Linked DNA regions of Homo sapiens: regions 1 and 2 are each linked to region 3. The links are contacts of gene promoters, found by promoter capture Hi-C in human tissues and cell types (Jung and others, 2019). All regions are on one chromosome and are shown on one strand. Each heading gives the region's core, a stretch centred on a gene start or on the middle of the fragment in contact. The rest is flanking DNA. Distances are from core to core; before and after follow the strand shown. Region 1 holds the start of TNNT3 (troponin T3, fast skeletal type). Region 2 holds the start of MRPL23 (mitochondrial ribosomal protein L23). Region 3 overlaps IFITM10 (interferon induced transmembrane protein 10).

What was found. The method cuts DNA at HindIII sites, captures the fragments that hold promoters and counts their contacts. A contact is called where the count stands out against the background at its distance.
Region 1: a contact is called between the fragment with the promoter of TNNT3 here and a fragment that was not itself captured in region 3, in 4 of the 25 tissues and cell types used here (IMR-90 fibroblasts, dorsolateral prefrontal cortex, lymphoblastoid cells and 1 more).
Region 2: a contact is called between the fragment with the promoter of MRPL23 here and a fragment that was not itself captured in region 3, in 2 of the 25 tissues and cell types used here (lymphoblastoid cells and spleen).

The regions. Positions count from the first base shown.
Region 1 is chr11:1,918,233-1,921,176 of GRCh38, forward strand. It overlaps TNNT3 (troponin T3, fast skeletal type), which reads left to right and starts at 1,471. Exons shown (of 16, transcript NM_006757.4): 1 at 1,471-1,530. The HindIII fragment of the contact is 33,765 bases long and covers 1-2,944 here.
Region 2 is chr11:1,945,895-1,948,842 of GRCh38, forward strand. MRPL23 (mitochondrial ribosomal protein L23) reads left to right here and starts at 1,438. Exons shown (of 5, transcript NM_021134.4): 1 at 1,438-1,485. The coding sequence starts at 1,469. The HindIII fragment of the contact is 45,453 bases long and covers 1-2,948 here.
Region 3 is chr11:1,742,785-1,745,651 of GRCh38, forward strand. All of the region lies in intron 2 of IFITM10 (interferon induced transmembrane protein 10), which reads right to left. Among named protein-coding and RNA genes, the nearest start is that of IFITM10, 6.4 kb to the right of the region's middle. RefSeq lists an enhancer at 817-1,175. The HindIII fragment of the contact is 8,903 bases long and covers 1-2,867 here.

The DNA of each region.
Region 1 (2,944 bases), core at 221-2,720, 180 kb after region 3:
CAGGAGGACGGCGACGTTCCCAGCAACCCCAGCTCCAAGAGCCTTCCCAGTGCCGGGCACTCAGCGGGAGGCAGGCAGGGGACCGGCCCTGTCCTTTGAAATGGCAGCCTGGGGCCAGCCCGCCTTGTCGTGTGACCCCAGGCACACCTTGCCTGTCCCTGGGCTCTGCGGCCTCGCTCTTCCATGGAGGGGTGGAATGAGGTGCCAACCACAGCCTTCCGGAAGGCCCCCGACCCGGCCCCAGGGCACTGTGAGCCCCTGCCGGGTTATCCTGTTGTCCCTGACTCTAAGCCTGGGGAGGACAGGGACCTCATCTGTGCCTCTCGGGACTCACCCCTGTCCTGGGCGCTGGCCAAGAAGGAACCAATCTGTGCCTGAACCGAAGAGTTCCGCAGACACCACCGCCCACGCTCAGCCTGTGGGGTCTGAGGGGAGTGAGGGGGTGGGTCAGGGTGCCAGACTGCTCTCCCCCACCTGGTGCCTCAGTTTCCCTGATCCAAGAGGCAGGGTTATCCAATCTGGTGGCCTCACTGGCCAGCATACAGGCCATCAGAGGCCAGGAAGGATGTCTGCTAGTCGGACGGTGCCACCTGGAGTCCTGAGGAAAGAAAACCAGTCTCCACACGCCACAATGAGCCTGTGGGAGATGCTGGCACAGATGGTAACGGCCACTGCGAGTGCCCAGGGTGGGGCCCCAGGGTTAGAAAGGGCCTAGAGGGAGGACCCAGACCCTTACCCAGCAAACTCCATGTGTAGCCCCCTGCAATGGCAGCAGCCCCGGGGGGAGGTATGGCAGACTCGGACTGCAGCCAGCCTGGCCATGTCCCTCGCCCGCTTATTGTGTAGGCCCCAACGGTGTCTAGCCAGGAAAGCAGAGCTGGCCTCTAAGAGGGTCTCAGATAGGGTGGGGGCCTGGCCTCAGTTCCATGGGGGGTCTCCGAGGCCTCAGGCTGCTTCCTCCCCGGGGGAGACAGCGAAGGGCCTGGGGCATTGGGCCGGGCGGCGGGAGGGGACCCCGGCTGTGCGGACCCTTTTCCTGGACAAATGTTTACTCCCACAGAACATCTCAGAGAGAAGGGGCGGGGGGGTGGGAAACCCGGCAGCCTGGCTCTGGGGACCCCCACACTAGTTTGGCCCAAAGAGAGCCTCGGCTTGGTGCCCCGGGGCCACCCAACACCTTCCTCCTCCCTCCTCAGCCCATCCAGAATGTACCCGCTGCTGGGAGTAAAAATAGCAGCTGACACCTCCTGGAGGCGGAGGGAGGACCTTGCCTCCTTCTCCAAGCACGTCCTCTGCATCCTGGCCTCCTTCAGCCTCCTCCTCTGGCCATTCCTATACTTGGTAAGGGGCCTGCACGGGCATAGCCCCCCCCAGCAAGACTCCGCACACACCCCGGCCACCCAGTCACTGGCCAATGGGCTCCTAGGAAGATCAAATGTCACTATAACACGAGGGTGTGAGCCGGGCGCCAGTGCCTGCAGCCGGTGCTGTCCACAGGGAGCTCCAGCCCTTCTCACACTCGACCCGCAGGTGGGTATAGGCAGGAGCGGCCACCCAGGACTGGGGCCGACGGGGCCTCCTGCGTGCGGGTGGACAGCCCCTCGTTCCAGGGACACTCTGGGGTCCTGGGGCGCTGAGGTCCCAGGTCCGTGTGGTGCCGAGCATCTCGAAGCATCATGGCTCGGAGCCCCCAGGTGGCTGCTCCAGCGTCCGGAGAGTCTGGGATGCGGACATGGTGGTGTGATGGTCTCAGCACCGGGAGGATGCAGAAGAAGGCAGAGTGTGGGAGGCCAGGAGGGGGCAAGTCGGGGCTCAGGGAAGCTCAGTGCTAGGGAGTGGCCTGAGGGCAGGAGGCAGAGAGGTGCGGGCTGTGAGCGGCAGGGAAGAGGCTGTGCAGGGGTGCTGCCAGGGCTTAGGTTGCCAGCTTGTGGTCGCCATGCAGACATTTGCCCAGGCCCGTCCTGGCCTTGCCATGCAGCTCTCGCACCTGGGCCTCCAACACCGCCATTTTGTAGAGATGAAAACGAGGACAGGAGGGCAGGGGCTCCTGTATGGCCAGCCCGAGTGTGTTGGGGTGGGGGCGTCTAAAGCCCACGCAGCCTTGGGGGCCAGCGTCTGGAGGTGCAGGACAGAAGTGGACAGGGGCTGGACTGGGGCAGGACGGGGCAAGAGTGAGGGGCTGGGCTTCATCGCGTCCCCCTGGCTGGAGGCTGGAGAAGCTGGCGCTCGTAAGAGCCCCCACCCACCCTCCCTGCCCTGGACACGGTCCCCCTGACTTGTGCCGTCTGATCAGGCCTTGGCTGCCCCTCCTGAAGTCCACGGAGGGACATGGGGCAAAGCAAAGGTTGGCTGGGTGGAGAACAGGTCTGGGGGCATGGTCAGGGCCACAGCAAGCAAGGGGCAGCGGCTTTTGCCTCCCCACCCTGCCCTGGCCCCGTCACCTCCCAAGGAGGGAAAGGTGATGCATACGTGCCCGAAGAAACTGACCGCATAGGTTATTTTCACGCAGCCCCTCCAAGGCAGGCACTAACTGGACACCTGCTTTGCGTCTCAGCTGTTGAAATGCCATCCCCTGCCCCCAGCACACCCCTGCCCCCAGCACACCCCTGCCACCAGCCCCTCCCCGCAACAGAGGCAATGACACAGGCCATACTGGGGGGAACAGAACAGCCTTGTGTTGCTTCCAGGCGCTCAGCAGAAAACCAGGTGCCTCAGTTTCCCCACTTGGAGAGTGGGCCTTTCCAGCGCACGTCGGGGGGCCTGGAGGTCACCCTGCCTGAGGGTGTTGGGGCACCCATGTGACTCTGGCCTGGGGGGACAGGAGGGAAATATGAGGAGCTGGGGAGGGCCTGGGTGCCCGAGGGTGAGGGGGCAGCTGTGGGCCAAGGAGGGCTGGGCTGTCACACCCGCCTCACCCACGTCTTGGGTTTCTGGGCAGAAACGT
Region 2 (2,948 bases), core at 188-2,687, 200 kb after region 3:
CCTGGGACCCTGCCACTGGCAGCCTGGAGCTTCTCCACCTCACGCAGGCCTGGACAACAGTGGGGACGGCTGCCACCACCTTCCCTGCCCACTCTGGCCCACTTCTCACTCCATCCTGCTTCAATGCCTTCATGCTAGATAGACCCCCTGGAGTCATTTCCACTCAAACCCACCCATCAGGAGGAACTCCAGCCCTACCCGGCCCAGGCCCTCGGAGGGGCACAGTGCCCTCTCCTCCTCCTGAATTTCCATCAACCCCAGTGCCCTCCCGCAGCCCTGTTCCCACCTGCAGGCCTGGGCCCCCTGCCCCCAGCAACAACCAGGACCCATGGCCCCGCTTCTTGCTCTGAAGCATGACACCCCTGCCTCTTGCTCTGAAGAACACTTAGGGTGCTGTTGGGTGCGGGAACAAGCCAGGCTTGGGGGTGGGGGGCACGGGCAGTTAAAGAGATAGATGGAGAAGTGGCCTGAATCCAGCCACCAGGCAGAGGAAACCAGGGGAGGAGGGAGAGGCCTGGGGACAGGGGAGGGAGGCTGCTGCCCTCTACTCCCGAAGGGTCCCAGCAGCCCTCCTGGCCAGCACTACCCAAGGAAAGGAGTGAGGACTGGGCCTTGGACGGGGGTCCCTGTAGAGAGGGCCTTGCCAGAGGCTGGAGGGGGCTGGCCAGAAGGGTGGAGAGGGGGTGAGCAAACGGCAAGGCCTGAAGAGGCCAGTGGCCCTCTTGGAGGAGGCGTGGTGGGAGCACCGAGGATGGACAGCGTGGCTGGTGTGGCCAGCGTGGGGGCTGCCAACCGGGCTGGCCAGAAGGGCGAGGTGAGGGGCCCTGGGGTTCCGGGCTCCCGGGTAAAAACAGCCAGATGGAGAGAGGGGCTTCAGACCCCAGGCCCGGGGACCCGCCCTCCCCAGCACTACAGCCCCGGTTCTCCACTTCCAGCTCCCAGCAGCTGCAAGCGCAGCGGTGCGGGGCCAGGCTGTGGCCTGGAGCTGCCAAAGGGCAGGGGCACGGGTGTGGGGGGCGTGCAGGCCGGGGTCCCGGGAGGCAGGGCAGACAGGCCCGAAAGAGTGCGACGGCGGCGGGAGGTCTCTGGGGCTGGGAGGGGTGCGGGCGTGGGCGGGGCGCGAGCAGCAGGGGCGCGGGCCCGGGCTTCAGGCTGTGGGGCCGGGAGTGCGGGGCGGGACTGCTGCGGCCCCGCGTCCTGTGGAGTCTGCGGCGCGGGGAGTGGGGGTCGGGGCGGGGAGGAACGTGGGGTGCGGGACAGGAGGGGGGCAGGGAGGGAGAAGAAGGCGGCGCGGGGCGGGGCGGGCGCAGGGCTGGGGACGGCACGGGCGCGCGGCACGGGCGCTGGCGCGTGCGGGGGGGGCGGCGCGGCCTCCGGAAGCGAGGGGGCGCTGTGCCAGGCGGCGGCCGTGCGGGGCGGGCGCGCTGCTCCTTCCGCCTCGCGGACCCCGGAAGCGCGCGTGGCCGCCATGGCGCGGAATGTGGTGTGAGTAGGGGTCGTCACCCCCCCGTCGCGGGGCGCCCCTTAGTGTCACAAGCAGACGGACCCCACAGGGCGCGCGGACTCCGGGGAGCGGGGTGGGCGTCCCTGGGCCGCCTCCTGGCCCGGGCGAGGCAGGGTTCTCCGGGACCCCCTGTCATGCCTTGAGACACGCGAGGCGGGTGGCGGAGGAGCCCCCCGCCAGGTTTAGGGCAACCCCAGGGGGCGGGCGTGGCCGGGCTGGGGACAGAGGGTCCGAGCCAAACCCATGGAGGCCACGGTGCCCCCGCGTGGGGAGTGGGAGGGTGGCCCGGGGTCAGGCCCGGGGCTGGTCCCGCAGCCAGGGCCGAGGGAGCTGTTTGGAGACGTTTCTGATCGTCACGGGGCGGGGGCCACGTCGGCTGTTGGGTCCAGGCGGGGAGGCCCGGGCGGCCCCCACCGCAGCGCGGGCGCGGCCTGAGGCAGAGGAGCTGGGAATCCAGATTGGGTTTGAGTGGGAAAGGGCAGCTGACCGCAGCCCTCAGGGCTTTGGGGCAGGCAGGGCGGGAGGCCCGGTTCTGCTCAGCCCAGACCCCCCACGCCCACTCTGCATGTTCTCTGGATTCCCAGGGGGCCATCGGGGCGCTGTCCTGCACCACTTCGCCCTCCCCAAATTGAAGCAGGAAGCCCTGCATATTTCTTGGTGAACGAATGACTCAGGCGTAATCAGTAGATGTGGGCTCCCGGGTGGGTTTTGGAGAACAGTAATCAGTGTTTCTGGAGAGGGACGGTCAAGGGGCCAGGGTGTGGCTTTGGAGGCCCCTGCACATAGCTGGGGAGAGAGGGGAGGGTGGCAGGTGGGACCCCCAGTGGAGGAGGCTTCCTTCAGCAGACACCTGGGACCGGTGCTGCGCGTGGCCCTGACCTTGGGGAACACCCAGCACCAAGGAAGAAAAGGTCTGAGTGAGGCCAACACTGCCCTGAGCCTCACGTGAATTCCACGCTGGCCCTTCGCCTGTCCCTGGAGAATGAGGAGGAAGTGAGGGTCAGAGGACCCGGGTGGGGTGTTCCTGAAGGGCCAAGGGTGGTGGGCCCCTGGAAACGGATCAGGTGTGGTTGCCTTGGAGGCAGCGGGGCCCGCTCGCCCAGCAGTGCACACACTCCTGTTGCCAGGGAGCCTTTGCAGGGAGCGCTGACTGGACTTGCTGTGGACTGGATGCAGCTGGGGTGGGGGTGCCGAGAGGGTGGGATCCTGGGTGAGTCACTCGTGGGGCCGTGGGGAGGCAGGCTGGTGGCAGTGAGCCAGGTTTTTGTGTTTTGAGGAAGAAGTTAGTGCAGAGTTCTACTTGAGATAGGTTACCGTGGAGGTGCTTGTGAAATCCCATGCGGAGTGCTTGGGGTGCTCCCTGGGGAGAGTGGGACTGAGGGAACTGAGGGCTGGTGGGCCCACAAGGGTTCGAGAACAAAAGAGAGGCCTTAGAGCCCTGTCC
Region 3 (2,867 bases), core at 160-2,659:
TGGATGGAAGGTTGGGTGGCTATTTGGAGGGGTTGAAGGAAATGTGGGAGGATGGATTGAATATAAGTTTGGGTGGATGGACGGAGGGAGGATGAACAGATGATGGATGGATGGATGGACAGATGGAGGATGGATAGATGGATGGAGGATGGATGGATAGATGGATGGAGGATGGACAGATGGAGGATGGATGGATGGATGGACATATGGATGGATGAAAGATAAATGGATGGATGGATTGAGGGTGGATGGATGGATGGATGAAGGATGGATGGAGGGCGGATGGATGGATGGATGGAGGATGGATGGAGGATGGATGGATAGATGGATGGAGGATGAATAGATGGATGGATATGGATGGATGGACAGATGGAGGATGGATGGATGGACAGATGAAGAATGGACAAATGGAAGATGGATGGATGGACAGATGAAGAATGGACAAATGGAAGATGGATGGATGGAGGATGAATAGATGAATGGATATGGATGGATGGACAGATGGAGGATGGATGGATGGACAGATGAAGAATGGACAAACGGAAGATGGATGGATGGATGGATGGATGGAGGATGGACAGATGGAGGATGGATGGATGAATGGATGGAAGATGGATAGACGGATGGATGGAGGGTGGATGGATAGATGAAGGACAGATGGAGGATGGCTGAATGGAGGATGGATGGATGGATGCATATGGATGGATGGACAGATGGAGAATGGATGGATGGAAGATGGATGAATGATAGATGGATGGAGGATGGGAAAGATAAATGTGTGATGCTGATATTCAGAAAGGAGTGAGTGGGTGAGTGTGTACATCCAAAACCCAACGCAGAACCCACCCACCTAACCTGTTCTTTCTGACCGCCCTGTCACTGGAAGGTCTCACAGCCTCCTGGGCTCACATCTAGCAGCTGCTGTGTCCTAGCCACACCTGTTCCTCCTCTCCCACCCCCATCCCCAGCTCGCAAGCTCTCCCACCTGGACCACCACACTGGGACTTGAACCTTCTGCCTCGAGGCTTGTCTTGTCTCCTTCCCCTACACTGGTTGCAGATTTCATGGCCCTGATCATATCCTTCTCTTTCCATGGCTCCTACAGATGAGAGCCCAGCCCCTCACGAGGTTTTCAAACCCGTTCACCGCACTGCCTCAGGCACTCTTCCAGGAATGTCTTCCATCTCCCATTGAGGACAGGGGCCTTGCCGACCCCCTAGACTGCCCCACCTACGTGTCTTAGTTTATGCCATTTTCCCCGCCTGAAACACCTTTCCCCTCACCAAGCTTCAAGGCCCAGTGAAATTGCTGCCTCCTTCTAGAAGTTTTCCAGCCTCACCCCAAACTGGGAATGAAGTATTCCTTTTCTGAAACACTGTGGTGCTTCTTCCGTCTCACCATGTGTCCTCTGTCCACCCACCCATTAGACCCACATGTCCTGACCCATCTGTTGGCCAGCTCTGCCTTGGGCACAGATTGGCTGGGGTGAGCAGATGTGGCTGGGGCAGGACTGTCTCTGGAGGCTTTGCAGAAGAGAGACCCAGATCTCACAAAAGCTCTCCAGGCCGAGGATGTGCACATCGCTCACATCACATTTGCCGAGTGACCGGGGCGGGGAACCGCTGAGGCCAGAAGGGTTAAAAAGGCAGCTTGGATGCTGAGATGAGACGTTTGGCCATCATCCAGCTGACCGCGGGAGCCAGTGGTCATCAGGAGACAGTGTGTGGAGGCGGCATGAATGGAGAATTGACTTTTTGTATCTCTGCCTTCCCCGGACACCAGGCTGTGCAAAATAAGGCTTCAATCTCTGCGCTGCAGATCCAGCCTGCGTTGAGCCGAATTGGCCCATGTGGGTGGGGGGGGTGGATGGATGGCTGGACGGGTGGATGGACACGTGGGGGCAGGCAAGGACACACTGTCTAGTTCATACCACTGCATGCGGGCCTCCGCCCTGCTCACGTGTGCTGGCTTGAATGTTGTTTTGTTTCTATTTGTTTTGTGAACAGATGAGGGAACAGGGGCTCAGTGAGGCAAGATGGCTTGTCTGTCCCAAGAGCTCGGATTTTAGCCAAGACCTTCTGAACCTAGGGCCACCCCGCGTCCTTGGTGTAGGGTGCAGGTCAGGAGACCTGCAGCTGGGTGACCAGATGGATGCATTCCCAGGCGTGGGGTCCACAGCCAGCCAGTTCCGTCCTCCCTTCTGCCCAGGATGGAGACAGGTCACCTTGCACCCACTCCCAGGTATGCCCCAAAGCCTCTCTGCCCTGGCTGCCCCCGCCCACCGCAGGAAGGACACAGGAGGAGCAGGCTTGGGAGGAGGTGTAATGAGCCGTCCCTGACCCTCAGAAGGGTCAACCTCACACCACCCCCAACCCCTGCAGAAACCCGGCACCATCCAGAAATCCCTGACCTACCTACAACCCGAGCCAGATGGGCCTGCCCCATGCCAGCCGGCCAGCCACAGCCTGAGCCAAGCGGGAGGAGGGACAGCTTCCGGACGGGAGCCCAGGCAGCCAGACCCATGTCCGCAGGCTGTTGGCAGGGCACAGAGAGAGGGGAGGCAGAGCTCCACCAGCTGCAGCTTCAGCCCCCCAACACTGGAGCTTTCTGCTCAGGATTGGTCTGGGGAGCCACAGCTGGAGCTGGTCGGAAGCATGACCTCCAATTCCAGGGGCCCTTTTCCTTTGTTGCTTCTACACACACACACACACGCAGGAATACTCACCACCACACACACATGCTCTCACACACTTGTGCACACACATTTACACGTACCATGCACACTCACGTATGATTACACACGCATGCACAGTCAGGTACATACATCACACATGCACACACTCACACACACTTGTGCACACACATTT